Regions from separate parts of the Homo sapiens genome. Here regions 1, 2, 3 and 5 are each linked to region 4. Evidence: promoter capture Hi-C in 16 types of primary human blood cells and fetal thymus (Javierre and others, 2016). All regions are on one chromosome and are shown on one strand. Each heading gives the region's core, a stretch centred on a gene start or on the middle of the fragment in contact. The rest is flanking DNA. Distances are from core to core; before and after follow the strand shown.

Region 1 (2,700 bases), core at 197-2,696, 210 kb before region 4:
TGCACTATAATTTTTGTTTTCTTTCACAGCAAGCTTGTATTTCTGTCATAATGGAGGGAAATCTAACTAAAAATTAAGTTATAAACAAAAGTAAAAACTAAAAAAAAATTTATTCTTCAATTCCAAATTCCATAACCTCAAGAATTAGGAATTATACTTTTTCACAGCTTCTTTCCCAAAAACAGATGGGTCTTTACTGATTCCAATGTGCTAAAGTCTACCTATGGCCCCCATCCAGTGCTTGAATTTCTTCTGCAGCATCCTAACAAGGGGGGTGGCAAGCTCAGGCAGGAACAGCTCTCAGATAGCTCTCTCCTGGGCAGTCAATCCCACCCACAGCACCTCTGCTTGGGAGCTCCTCTCTACTTGGAGTTAACTTTGTTTCCCTATAGCTAACTTCTGTTCACTACCTACTAGTTCTGTTTTGTTTTTTGGGTTTTTTTTTTCCGAGACAGGGTCTCGCTCTGTCGCCCAGGCAGATCCCGGCTCACCGCAACCTCCATATGCCGGTTCAAGCGATTCTCCTGCCTCAGCCTCCCGAGTAGCTGGGATTACAGGCGCATGTCACCGCACCCAGCTAATTTTTGTATTTTTAGTAGAGACGGAGTTTCACCATGTTGTCCAGGCTGGTCTCGAACTCCTGACCTCAAGTGATTGGTGAGCCTCGGCCTCTGAAAGTGCTGGGATTACAGGCATGAGCCACCGTGCCCAGCCAGTACCTACCAGTTCTGCTTCTACATCCTGGGCCATTTTTTCTCTCTTTCATACATCAACTTTACTAATAGTTGAAGTCAGCTATCATGCCTACCTAAAACTTCCCTTGGTAAAATTTGTTCCCTAATATGCTCAAATAAGGAACAGTTAAATCTATGATGCATGTATACTGTGCAATACTCTATAGACACAACTATATAAAATAAGGAGACACAGAGAAATATCCACTATATGCTAAGTGGAAAAGCAAGCTACAGAACAAAATATATTTATTTTTGTTTAAAAACATATTATGTGGATATATGTATTAATTATTTCCCACATAAAAAGATATAGATATCTTATAGATAGAATATATTCCACACTCTTTAACAGTGGTTACCCTAAGAAGTAGACAAAGGGCTTTCATTTTTTACTTTGCATATTTATATATTCTTTTAATTTTTAAAAATATTTTTAAATGGCCAAGCACGGTGGCTCACTACTGTAATCTTGGCACTTTGGGAGGCCAAGGCAGGCAGATCACCTGAGGTCGGGAGGTCAAGACTGGCCTGGCCAACATGGTGAAACCCCACCTCTACTAAAAATACAAAACTTAGCCGGGCGTGGTGGCCTGCTTCTGTAATCCCAGCTACTCAGGAGGCTGAGGCAGGAGAATCACTTGAATCTGGGAGGCGGAGGTTGCAGTGAGCCGAGATCGTGCCACTGCACTCCAGCCTGGGTGACAGAGCAAGACTCTGTCTCGAAAAAATTTAAAAAAAACAAAAAACTTTTAAATAATCAAGTATAGGTTTTGTGATTTTAAAATATTAAAAATGTTGGAGGGAGGGGTTGAAAAATCTCTTACTTTATATCCTTTGACTGACTAATAACACTTCTGGAAGTCTACTGTAATGAGAACTCATAGACCAAATGCCCTTTGGGCATCTCAGATGCTTATTGGGACATTTCCCATTCATCCGACAAGTATCTGAATGGCTACTGTATATCAGGTACAACGCTAGAAGCTGAGAACATAGCAGTGAAATGGCACACAAGGTTTGTACTCAAACAGCACTTAAGATCTTACAGGGAAGATACTCTAACACAAATATTTGCAATAAACTAACATGAAAATAATAGGAGACATGCAACCATAATCTCAAACTCACCACTTCCCCCTCAAATCTTCCATTAATGAGTATCTTCAACCAAGCCAGAAACCTAAGAATTATCTTAACTTCTCCATTTCACTCACACCCCAATCAAATTAATGACTAAGTCCTCTTATTTCTACCATTTCTCACATCTGTCTAACTTGGCTCCTTTCTTACTGCAACACTCATTATCTCCAGCCTAGACCACAGCAGTTCTCCTATGTTCACTTACTGTTGCCCCTTCAATCTCTTTTCTACTTGTTGCTTTGAAGATCTTTCTAAAATAAAAGCTCATCATGTGACTTTCCTGCCAAAATCTTTTAATGACTTCAGAGTACATATGAGCTAGGAATCAAATTCCTGAGTATGGCAGACGAGGTTCTCCATGAGGACCTTGGTTTACCTTGGCTCTTGTCATATCGTATGTCCCATACCACAATCCAGCTATCCTGATACCTGTAGTTCCCCATTGTACCATACTTGTTTCAAGCTGATATGCCTTGGCCTGTGCAGTGCCCTCTGCTTGGAATATATCTGGCAACATCTACTTATCTTACAAATTTAAAGTTATAAATTATCTGGCTGGGCATGGAGGCTCACACCTGCAATCCTAACAGTTTGGGAGGCCAAGGCAAGCAGATTACCTGAGGTCAGTAGTTCAAGACCAGCCTGGCCAACATGGCAAAACACTGTCTCTACTAAAAATACAAAAATCAGCCGGTCATGGTGGTGTGCACCTGTAATTCCAGCTACTCAGGAGGTTGAGGCAGGAGAATTGCCTGAACCCGGGAGGTGGAGGTTGCAGTGAGCCGAGATCGCACCACTGCATTCCAGCCTGGGCAACAGAGCA
Region 2 (2,700 bases), core at 201-2,700, 200 kb after region 4:
TGTGGCCTGAATGCTATACACAAGTGTGAGGCATGGTGGCTGCCCTCTGGAAGCTTCCTGTCTGCAAGAGTCCTGCAGACAGCAGGCCTGAGACATTGCACAGAGCCACGGAGGAGCGGCTGAAGATGACTGACAGGAAGGAGTTTAGGGATGGGGAGTCAGGAAAGTCCAAGGCTGGTGGGCTCTGCCAAGGAAGCCAGAGGAAGCGCTTTCAGCTACCTTCTCATCAAAGGAGGCATCACCAGCCCCTGAGTTTCTTGAGAATGGGGACCACCCTTTACTTGCCTCTGAAACCCTCATGCCTGGCACAATGCTGGCGCATAGTAGGTGCTCAGTTTTTTGGTTTGTTTGTTTTTTAAGACAGAGTCTTGCTCTGTCGCCCAGGCAGGAGTGCAATGGCGCAATCTCCACTCACTGCAACCTCCGCCTCCAGGGTTCAAGCAATCCTCCTGCTTCAGCCTCCCAAGTAACTGGGATCACAGGTGCACACCACCATGCCCAGCTAATTTTTTTGTATTTTTAGTAGAGACAGGGTTTCGCCATGTTGGCCAGGCTGGTCTCAAACTCCTGACCTCAAGTAATGCACCTGCCTCAGCCTCCCAAAGTGCTGGGATTACAGGCATGAGCCACCATGCCCGGCCAGTTCATTTGTTCAGTGGAACTGAGTGAGACTTCAGGGCCCACTGACAGAGATGGGCCTGCCTAGCACTGCAGACCCGAGGCCTCCACTCTGAAAGGTGCCAGCCCGCTAAAGGAATGAAGGAGAGCTTGTTCATACCCAGCCATGAGGATCAGGGCAGCTGGAGGGCCACCACTGAGCTGTGTTTGGGGGCAGCCAGGAGCATGCGCTGCCAGACAGAGGACCCTTTCCAGGCTGGCTGAGGACAGAAGGATGTGATCATTAAGCAAAGCCAACATGTTACTGACCCATAATCCCTTAAACCAGGAGGATTCGGGAAGGGCCTGGTCGCCTTGGCAACTAGGTGCTGGCCAGTCGCAGGGCTGAGAGCATCCTCCAGGAGTGGGCTGTGCCTGGTGCTGGTGCATGGGTAACAGCTGGGAGCGGGTGCAGGGCGGCCCATCATAGGGCTCACCCCCTGGTGCCTTCTTGCCAGCATGGGTGGAAGCCCTTGTGAGGCCTCAAGGGCAGTGTGTGCAGAGCAGGATGAGAGGGGGGCTGCACTGAGCGTGTAGGAAACCATGAAGGGAAGTGGAGGGGAGGTGAGACAGCGCTGCTCTGGGTTTTCAGGGCAGGAGGGAGAAGGGAGGGTCTGCAGGAAGAAGCAGTTGCATGGGTCTCATTGGGTGGCCAGCAGGGCATCCTCTAATTCAGAGGGCACGAGGAGCTGGGTAGCCTGAAGAAGAAAGCTTTCATGGTTGGGGACAGGACCGTGGGGGTGGGCAGAGCAGCTTACCCCGCTCCTCCATGGTGTTCTCGGTAGGGGATACCTGCCTGCTTGGAGGGCTCTGGCATGGGAAGAGGCCTGCAGGGATCAAGCCTCATCTTCCCTAGGGCTCGACTCTATTAATGGCAAGCTTCCGTGTTTCCCCTGAGACCTTCCACTGCTCCTGACCTCCTGTATTTCAGCTGGAGAGAAGGTGCAGCTGGCCAGCTCTGATGCACTCTTCCCTTCCTCCTCTTTTTCCCCTCTTGCCTCCTGGGGCATGCCAGAGCAGAGACCTTCAGGTGTCAGTATCAGAGGTGAAATGAGGTTTGGACCCAATCATGTCCCAAGGGTGTTGGCCAAGCTGACATTCAGTTTACGGGCCTTGGTCAGTAAGATTTATTGGCTGTTGACACATTCAGGCCCTTGGACACAAGTTGGTAAATTTCTGCTGGTCCAAGGACTGCCTGGTTCTGGCACCCTCCCTGCCACCCCAGCCCTTCCCCCAGAACTCTCTAGACCTCCAGCAGCTAAAGGGCTTAGGTCTGGGGGGCCTTCAGGATCCTCTTTGCACATCATGCCTGCTATTATGACCAATACTTTGCTGGACTAGGTGGTCCATAGAGAACTGCACAGGGCGTGGCGGGGCGGGCGGTGGGCAGTGGAGGCAGTGCTGAGGGTCACTGGGAGGAAGAAGGTGACTGGGAAGAAGAGGGTGAACACCCACCCTCAGAGGGGTCAAACTTTGCAGAAGACACAACCCTGGCTCCCAGTGATGGTGGCATACAGGGCGACAGAGCTTGATGAGAGAGCTGAATTCCCAGTGGGTGGAGACCTGGACTGGTTGCCTTGTTCTTTTCAACTGCTCTTCTCACACTTCCCATCTCAGGACCCGGCTGCCCAGTCCCTCATGATCATGAACAAGATGAAGAACTTTAAGCGCCGTTTCTCCCTGTCAGTGCCCCGCACTGAGACCATTGAAGAATCCTTGGCTGAATTCACGGAGCAATTCAACCAGCTCCACAACCGGCGGAATGAGAGTGAGGGGTCTGGGCCCACCCAGCACCTCTCCCACCTACCAGACACTCCCCAGTCACCTTCCCCTCCCCGCCCACCCCCTCCCCACTGGCCTTAGGGGAGGAGCACAGCGCTGGGGGAGGGGGGCTACCCTTCTCTCCCTCAGGACAGAGAGGCAGGGAGGGGAGCTGACGCCTGTCCCTCTTAGACTTGCAGCTCGGTCCTCTTGGCAGAGACCCCCCGCAGGAGTGCAGCACCTTCTCCCCAACAGACAGCGGGGAGGAGCCGGGGCAGCTCT
Region 3 (2,700 bases), core at 194-2,693, 160 kb after region 4:
AGATGCCCTACAGGCCCCCCAACAAGGGTGGGTCAGTGGGAGCACTGATGGGTCCCTCCCAGCTGAAGGGAATTAGGTTAGACATGAGGAAGAACTGTCCCAGTGTTGGGGTGGCAAGTAAAGAGGAAGGTGGTTTCTTTTTCCCTAAACAGTTTTAAAAATATTAGCTATTCTTCTATCTGAGGTACAGTCAGGTGAGTTTGGCCTGGGGGCAGGGAGATGGCCACTGAGCCCCTGGAAAGGAGTTGAGTGGGGCTGGGCTTGGGGGAGGGAGGGCTACAGCAAAGACATGGGTGAGGAGGAGCTCTGGAAATAGCTCCCCCAAGGGGAAACATCTCCCTTTCCTCCTTGAGGTAACTGATCAGACTGGGAGTTCTGAGTCCTGGCTGTAGGGGCTGCCAGATTCTAGAAGCCTCTCTGACCCCCAGGTTCCTTTTCTGTCACACAGTTTTTGAGTAACTATAAAACATCTCTGGGCTGGGTGCGGTGGCTCACGCTTGTAATCCTAGCACTTTGGGAGGCTAAGGCAGGAGGATCGCTTGAACCCAGGAGTTTGAGACCAGCCTGGGCAATATAGCAAGACCCCATCTCTACAAAAATTAAAAAAAATTAGTCAGGCATGGTGGTACATGTCTGTAGTCCCAGCTATTTGGGAGGCTGAGGTGGGAGGATCGCTTGAGCCCGGGACGTCGAGGCTACAGTGAGCCGCGATCAAACCACTACACTCCAGCCTGGGCAACAGAGCAAGACCCTGTTCTCCCTCACCGCTCCCCCTCAGAACCGCTCCCCCTCAGAAAAGTCTCTGATCTGACACTCTCAGCATTTGATACTATTCACCCCTTCTTCCATTTTGAAATGTTCTTCCTTAATTATTGAAAGCAATATTCTTCAGGCTCTCTTGCATCTTCCATAGGAATTAGGAATCTTCTATTTGCAGGAAACAGAAAAGCTCTCTACCTAACAGGCTAAAAAATACAGGACATCTATTCATTCACAAATGGTTCCAGCAAGGACTGATGGAGCAACGCAGGGATGTCACATAGGGCTAGTTCTTTCTTTCTGCCCCTCTGTCTTCCTCAGCCTCATGCTCCCTCCCAGGCTGCTGCTCTTGGTGCCACCTGCCTCTTCCTTCACACAGTGATAGAAAGAGCTTCTTGTCCCAGGGTGTCATTCAAAAGCCCTGTAAGTCTCTGGTTGGCAAGACTTAGGAGACATGTCCCCCTCGAATCAATCATGATACCATGTGCTCCACTCCACAGCCAGAGATCCCTTCTGTCCCCAGAGTTGCCAGGATCTTCCAAATGAAAATAGGAGCTGCTGAGGTGGAGAAGGGGACTGGCCACTGGGGAGACCTCAACACATACCCTTGCCCTGACCCCTCCCACCTCTAGTTCTCTTCCTGCTGGCCTCAGCCTCCCTCTCCACACTGGCTCCCCCTGCATCCAGAGTCCCTCCCCGGCTGCAAGACCATGCCCCTGTGGCTGATTCCCTCCTTATCCACACTGAAGCCCTGACTGTCTTCCAACATCCTGTCCTGTATCTTGATCTGTTCACGAAGCATTTCTACTTGATGTCCTCAAATTAACCCTCATATAAAAAGAACTAATGATCCTTTCCCTGACATCACACGCCCGTCCCCCGACACACACACACACACACACACACACACACACACACACACACACACATTGCTTGACTCTCCAGTTATTCCCATGTTGGGCTGGTCCTTCTCCTTTACCCCCAACATCACATCCTGCAGGACATCCTGGCAGTTCTCCGTTGCGTCTACAGTTAGTTACCTTAAGCCTGGGCCACAGAAACATACTCCCCTAGTCTACAAAAATTAAAAGAAAAATTAGTCTACTCTTCAGTCCCAGACATGCTCCCAGTCTCCTCCTCACTTGGATGTCAGCCTTCCTGAAATGCCACTGCTTCCTGTCCCCCCTCCCTCAAACACCTTCAATGACTCCCCGTCTCTCACATGACCAAATTGACCTCCCTTCGCCTGGCATTTGAAGCTCTCTGAGAACCAGCCTGCTCTAACTTGATGGGCTTCGCTCTGCCGTCTGGTACAGATGTCTGTCTGGTTCACCATATACCTAGAAAGACCCTGAGCGTTCCTGCCTCTTCACTCCCCTGTAGCTTCCCAAAGGTCCCCATGCTCCTGGCAGCCTTCCCTGACCACCACAGCCCCACAATCTCTCTGTCACTGTCTGGGTCAGTTGCCTGGCCCTCAGAGTCACTGCCCAGCCTCCCATTTTTGTGTGTGTAGAACTGTCTGCCTTTGTATTCCCAACTGCATCCAAAGCCCCTTGAGATAAGAGTCGCTGTCCTCAAATGCCCTGGGGGAGCCTGTTCTTGGTAGAAATGAGCTCCTGTGCATGGAAGCACCTTGCACCATTCTGAGTTCTGAGAGGGCAGAAAGGGTGGTTTGGTGTTTTACCAGGGAGGAGGTCAGGAGCAGGACCATTGAAAGAAACTGCAGACATTAGAGCCTCCTCAGGGAGGGTGCGGTTGTTAAGGGCAGCCTGCTTACAGGAGAGAGCCACAACCTGGCATCAGAAGACACCAGCTATGACCAGGCATGGTGGCTCACGCCTGTAACCCCACCACTTTGGGAGGCTGAGGCGGGCGGATCACCTGAGGTCCGGAGTTCCAGACCAACCTGACCAACATGGAGGAACCCAATTGCTACTAAAA
Region 4 (2,700 bases), core at 161-2,660:
GCTCACTGCAAGCTCCGCCTCCTGGGTTCAGGCCATTCTCCTGCCTCAGCCTCCCGAGTAGCTGGGACTACAGGCGTCCGCCACCACGCCCGGCTAATTTTTTGTATTTTTAGTAGAGACGGGGTTTCACTGTGTTAGCCAGGATGGTCTCGATCTCCTGACCTCACGATCCGCCCGCCTCGGCCTCCCACAGTGCTGGGATTACAGGCGTGAGCCACCGCGCCCGGCTATCTCACCGCAAGTTCTATGTGTTAGGAGCAATATAAGTTCATATTTCGATCTTATTCAATCCTCACAGCAGCTTGTGAGGCAGGCTGTGTTTTCTACAGTTCTGCAAAAGGGGAAACAAAGTACAGAGATGAAGGAAATTGCCCAAGGTCACACAGACTGCTAGACTCCTACGCTCGCACCAAAGTAACAGGGCATGTTCTTGAAAAGGCCCCCAAACCGAAAGGTGTCTCTGGTACAGTGGACCTGGTTTCACATTTTCCAGAATCAAAAACTCATCATAATGAAATTTCAACTAAATTTTAGAGCTGGAAAGGACCTAAATGTCAAAACCCACCCCGTGCCAGAGCTCCAGTGTGCTGGGTTGCCAGATTCTTGGAGTTGGGGAAATCCACACCTCATCCATTCATTCAACCACACACATATTTACCAAATACCTATTAAGATGGGGTGCCTTCTACTTCCTCTTTCCATTGCACTCTATTGAACAGTCTTTTCCCAGCAAAACTCAACTTAAGTCCCATCCATCTTATCCCAGGACACGACACGATTCGTTTTTCCGCGCCAACTATCCATAGCCTCCCTTTTATTTGGCAATCATCACAGCAGTACGGTGTTGCTGGCTGGGGTTCGCAAGTTTGCGACCACTGTCCCTGCAATCACGGACTGACACATCTGCCAGGGACACCCCGCAGTAGCCCCGCAAGCTCAGCGCGGTAAAGACCACGCTGGCCTCTCCGCCGAGCAACGAGCGAGCCGCCGCCCGCCCTCCTCCGCTCCCTGCCGGCGGCCAAGCCGGAGCCCGCCCCGCGCCGCGAGAGGGAGCCGCACTCACCAGGCGCCCCGAGCTCTCCCGCGCCTTCTTCACCTTCCCGTAGGTGCCTTTGCCCAGGGTCTCCAGGAACTCGTAGCGGTGCCGCAGGTTGTGCTTGTGGTGGTGCCGCTTCACCGCCTGCTTCTTCATTAGGGGCTTGGGCGACTTGATCAGCCCTTCCGCCAGCGGCCGGGCTAGCTCTGCGGCCGAGGGAGTGGGGCCGGAGCGCCGCGCGAAAACCAGCGACTCCATGGCGAGCAGGAGGTGAGCAAGGGCGGCAGGGGAATCAGTAGGCTGTGCGGGGAGGGCTGAAGCGCGGGGCACAGGTCCCGCACCAGGACGGGGAGCCACAGCAGTACCAGAGCGCGCAGTAAAGCACAGCATTCCAAGTTGTTATAAACGCCCTGAGCCCGAGGCCCTGGACACGCCCCCCGGCGCCCATTGGCCTGCTCGACGGCGGCGCGTGACCACGGCCGTCCACATTGGCTCTCCGGGGCTCCAGGCCCCGCCTCCTCCCCCTCGGCGTGGCCGGGAAAGGTGTCAATGGAACCCGCCCACCAGGAATGGGGACTAGGGGATTCCAGCGAAGGCCGCCTGAGGCCCAGAAGCTTACTCTGAGGGCCCTTGGAGCTGCACTTGCCTCTGAGTGGCGCTTGGTCCTGCTTAATGCCCTGTTGTTTTATTGTACTCTGTTCTCAGTTGGCAAGGGGCGATCTGAGGGCACTAAAGGTCACCAAAGTATTTCTTCATCCTGAGTAATTTGCTTGTCCCAAGCCAAAATCTATAATTGCTTGACCACTTCATTGAGTCCATAAAGGAGAAAGGGAGCTGGGATGGAACAGAGGCAGAATCCAGCCTAGTGGGAGGGTTAGTGCAGAGCTGTCCTATGGTTCGAGTTCACTTGTCTTCAGTTAGATCAACCTTACTTGGATATTGGAATCCAATGGCCCTGGAAACTTCTTCCTTCTTCCTCAAAGAGGGCTTCTTAGGCGAATCGCTTGAGGTCCAGGAGTTCAAGACCAACCTAGCCAACATGACGAAATCCCATCTCCACTAAAGATACAAAATTAGCCGGGCGTGGTGGTGCGCGCTTGTAATCCCAGCTACTCTGGAGGCTGAGGCAGAAGAATCGCTTGAACCCAGGAGGCAGAGGTTTCAGTGAATCAAGATGGCGCCACTGCACTCCAGCCTGGGCAACAAAGTGAGGCTCCGTTTCAAAAAAAAAGAGGGCTTCTAAGGTTTAGTAGATTCCCTCAACCACTTAGTGGAATTTATTTAGGATGTGTCGGCTGGAGGTGGAGAGAACCCGAAGGGATACATATTTATTTAACATTTTTACATGCCGACTATCTAACCTGTGTCCCTAAGTCTGAAAATGGTTGCTCCACCCAAGGTTTTCTTGTGATTTTGGTGCCAGGAGCACTGGTGGTAGGTTATGAGGTTTGACTTGAGACGGAGTCTCCCTCTGTCGCCCAGGCTGGAGTGCAGTGGTGCGATCTCTGCTCACTGCAAGCTCCGCCTCCCGGGTTCACGCCATTCTCCTGCCTCAGCCTCTCCGAGTAGCTGGGACTACAGGCGCCCGCCACCACGCCCGGCTAATTTTTTGTATTTTTAGTAGAGACAGGGTTTCACCATGGTCTTGATCTCCTGACCTCGTG
Region 5 (2,700 bases), core at 71-2,570, 190 kb before region 4:
GGAGAACCCTGATGGCTGCCTGGCCCTTCCTGAGTCCTTAAAGCCTCCATTATTAAGCTTTCCATGATTCATCATGAAGAGATAAAATGTTCCAAATTAAATGTGTGTGTATGTGTGTGCGTGAGTGGGTGTGTATGATGACTGTTCTAAATTGCTAAAATAGTTTATGATCAATGTTTTGTTTGTTAAACCCATAATCCTGGGAAGATGAACACAACTTCAAGTACATTTCTGCTACCTGATGGGTCACTTAAACCTTTATAGAAGAATTTTATTCAATTGTCATTTTCAGTGCATGTTTTCTGGTTGTAGTGATAGAAGTACTAATACTTATTTCACTGGACAAGTTGTAAAAACAGTTTTATTTATTTATTTTGTTTTTTTTTAATTTTTTAATTTTTATTTTTTTGAGACGGAGTTTCACTCTGGTTGCCCAGGCTGGAGTGCAATGGCGCGATCTCGGCTCACTGCAACCTCCGCCTCCCACCTCCTGGGTTCAAGCAATTCTCCTGCCTCAGCCTCCCTAGTAGCTGGGATTACAGGCGCCTGCCACCACACCCGGCTAATTTTTTCTATTTTTAGTAGAGACGGGGTTTCACCATGTTGGCCAGGCTGGTCTTGAACTCCTGACCTCAGGTGATCTGCCCACCTCAGCTTCCCAAAGTGCTGGGATTACAGGCATGACCCACCGCGCCTGGCCTATTTATTTATTTATTTATTTTTCAGACAGAGTTTCACTCTTGTTGCCCAGGCTGGAGTGCAATGGTATAATCTCGACTCACTGCAACCTCTGCCTCCCAGATTCAAGTGATTCTTCTGCCTCAGCCTCTCAAGTAGCTGGGATTACAGGCATGTGCCACCACACCCAGCTAATTTTGTATTTTTAGTAAAGGTGGTGTTTCATTATGTTGGCCAAGCTGGTCTTGAACTCCAGACCTCAGGTGATCCACCCTCCTCGACCTCCCAAAGTGTTGGGATTACAGGCATGAGCCACGGCGTCTGGCCATAAAACAGTTTTTTGTTTTTTTTTGGTTTTTTTGAGATAGAATGTCCCTCTGTTGTCCAGGCTGGAGTGCAATGGCATGATCTCAGCTCACTGCAACGTGTGCCTCCCGGATTCAAGTGATTCTTCTGCCTCAGCTTCCCAAGTTGCTGGGATTACAGGCAACTGCCACCATGCCTGGCTAATATTTATATTTTTAGTAGAGATGGGGTTTCACCATGTTGGCCAGGCTGGTCTCAAACTCCTGACCTCAGGCGATCCTCCTGCCTTGGCCTCCCAAAGTGTTGGGATTACAGGCATGAGCCACCGCGGCTGGCCAGTTTTTAAAAAAGGATTGCAGATACAATAACATTAGGCAAAGCTAACTGAATTGACTAGATTGCCTTGGTCAAAGGTGTACCAGATTGATGACAATCAGATCCACTTCCAGTAGAAGATGGAAGTTGACCCCTTATGAAATAAATAGTCACTGGAAAGGCCTATGCACCTAATAATAGAACGTCTTGTATCTTCTGCTACTAAATACTGATATGACTAAATGCTACAAGGTTTTAATGCATTATGCCAAAGTGTATTTTCACCAGGTTAAAAAAAACTTTCATAGTCCACTGACTGAGGACAATCAAACCTTTCACAATCTAGAACCTGGAGATCGATTGGGTCTTCTGAGGGCAACATCACAGAAAAACTGCCCTTGGCATCCACAATGCAGCAAAACTTTGAGATCCTGAACCTTGGTCTCATAATCTCACAACTCAGAAGGGCCTCCTCCAGACTCTTGGAACTGTATACTGATTGGAAACCTTAAGGTAAAGCTAACCAGGGAAGATTCTCTCCAGAAGCAGATGGCATCCCAGATGTAGACAGCTTTTTCTCAAGATCATGGATCAAGATTGTACTATCATGATACTCTTCTCTCTCAAATTTTTTCTTGCTTGTGCCTGTATGAACAATAGAACTGAAAAAGTGATCTCATGTGTGTACTCATGGGGTATACTTTTATTTGTAGAGGATTTTGCAGCCACATGGACAGTCTTACACTTTGATAGATAGAAGATAAAAGGCCAGTGTCAGGGGAAAAAGAAAGAAAATTCTTAGAAGCACTTTATTAAGCACTTAATTTATCCCTTTTTTTTTTTTTTTTTTCTGAGACAGTGTCTTACTCTGTCACCCAGGCTGGAGTGCAGTGGTGCAATCACGGCTCACTACAGCCTCTACCTCCTGGGCTCTGGTGATCCTCCCACCTCAGCCTCCCAAGTAGCTGAGACTACAGGCATGTGCCACCATGCCTGGCTAATTTTTGTATCTTTTGTAGAGACAGGGTTTCACCATGCTGCCTAGGCTAGTCTCAAACTCCTGGACTCAAGCAATCTGCCCACCTCAGCCTTCCAGAGTGCTAGGATTACAGGCATGAGCCACTGTGCCTGACCTTAATTTATCTTTAGCACCAGGATACACTAAACTTTCTGGAGCTAGGAAACAAAAGACTATTAGCTAGAAGGAAAGGAAAATTGGAATATAGTGAGTTTCTCTCCAGTTCATTAATATCTTAAGGGAATGCCTAATCAATTCTTTGAACATAAGCTTCTTGAAGGCAAGCAGCCTACTCTGTTTTGTTTCCAAGTGTCTAGATTAGTGGTTGGCACACTATACATCCTCAATAAATAATTGTTGATCAATAAACAACCACAGGAACA

What was found. The method cuts DNA at HindIII sites, captures the fragments that hold promoters and counts their contacts. A CHiCAGO score of 5 or more calls a contact.
Region 1: a fragment that was not itself captured here is called in contact with the fragment with the promoter of NUAK2 in region 4 in 1 of 17 cell types (neutrophils); the score reaches 5.1 in neutrophils.
Region 2: a fragment that was not itself captured here is called in contact with the fragment with the promoter of NUAK2 in region 4 in 2 of 17 cell types (naive B cells and total B cells); the score reaches 7.8 in naive B cells.
Region 3: a fragment that was not itself captured here is called in contact with the fragment with the promoter of NUAK2 in region 4 in 2 of 17 cell types (naive B cells and total B cells); the score reaches 7.6 in naive B cells.
Region 5: a contact is called between a fragment that was not itself captured here and the fragment with the promoter of NUAK2 in region 4, in 1 of 17 cell types (neutrophils). The highest score is 5.6, in neutrophils.

Annotation. Positions count from the first base shown.
Region 1 is chr1:205,109,606-205,112,305 of GRCh38, forward strand. All of the region lies in intron 3 of RBBP5 (RB binding protein 5, histone lysine methyltransferase complex subunit), which reads right to left. Among named protein-coding and RNA genes, the nearest start is that of RBBP5, 11 kb to the right of the region's middle. The HindIII fragment of the contact is 2,830 bases long and covers 32-2,700 here.
Region 2 is chr1:205,520,873-205,523,572 of GRCh38, forward strand. It overlaps CDK18 (cyclin dependent kinase 18), which reads left to right. Exons shown (of 16, transcript NM_212502.3): 2 at 2,275-2,425; 3 at 2,611-2,700. The coding sequence starts at 2,296. Among named protein-coding and RNA genes, the nearest start is that of CDK18, 18 kb to the left of the region's middle. RefSeq lists an enhancer at 554-1,379. The HindIII fragment of the contact is 168 bases long and covers 1,367-1,534 here.
Region 3 is chr1:205,482,148-205,484,847 of GRCh38, forward strand. No RefSeq gene overlaps it. Among named protein-coding and RNA genes, the nearest start is that of TRK-TTT8-1, 9.4 kb to the left of the region's middle. The HindIII fragment of the contact is 5,521 bases long and covers 1-2,700 here.
Region 4 is chr1:205,320,335-205,323,034 of GRCh38, forward strand. NUAK2 (NUAK family kinase 2) reads right to left here and starts at 1,411. Exons shown (of 7, transcript NM_030952.3): 1 at 1,064-1,411. The coding sequence starts at 1,294. RefSeq lists a silencer at 918-1,097. The HindIII fragment of the contact is 5,000 bases long and covers 1-1,648 here.
Region 5 is chr1:205,128,141-205,130,840 of GRCh38, forward strand. No RefSeq gene overlaps it. Among named protein-coding and RNA genes, the nearest start is that of RBBP5, 7.5 kb to the left of the region's middle. The HindIII fragment of the contact is 2,530 bases long and covers 56-2,585 here.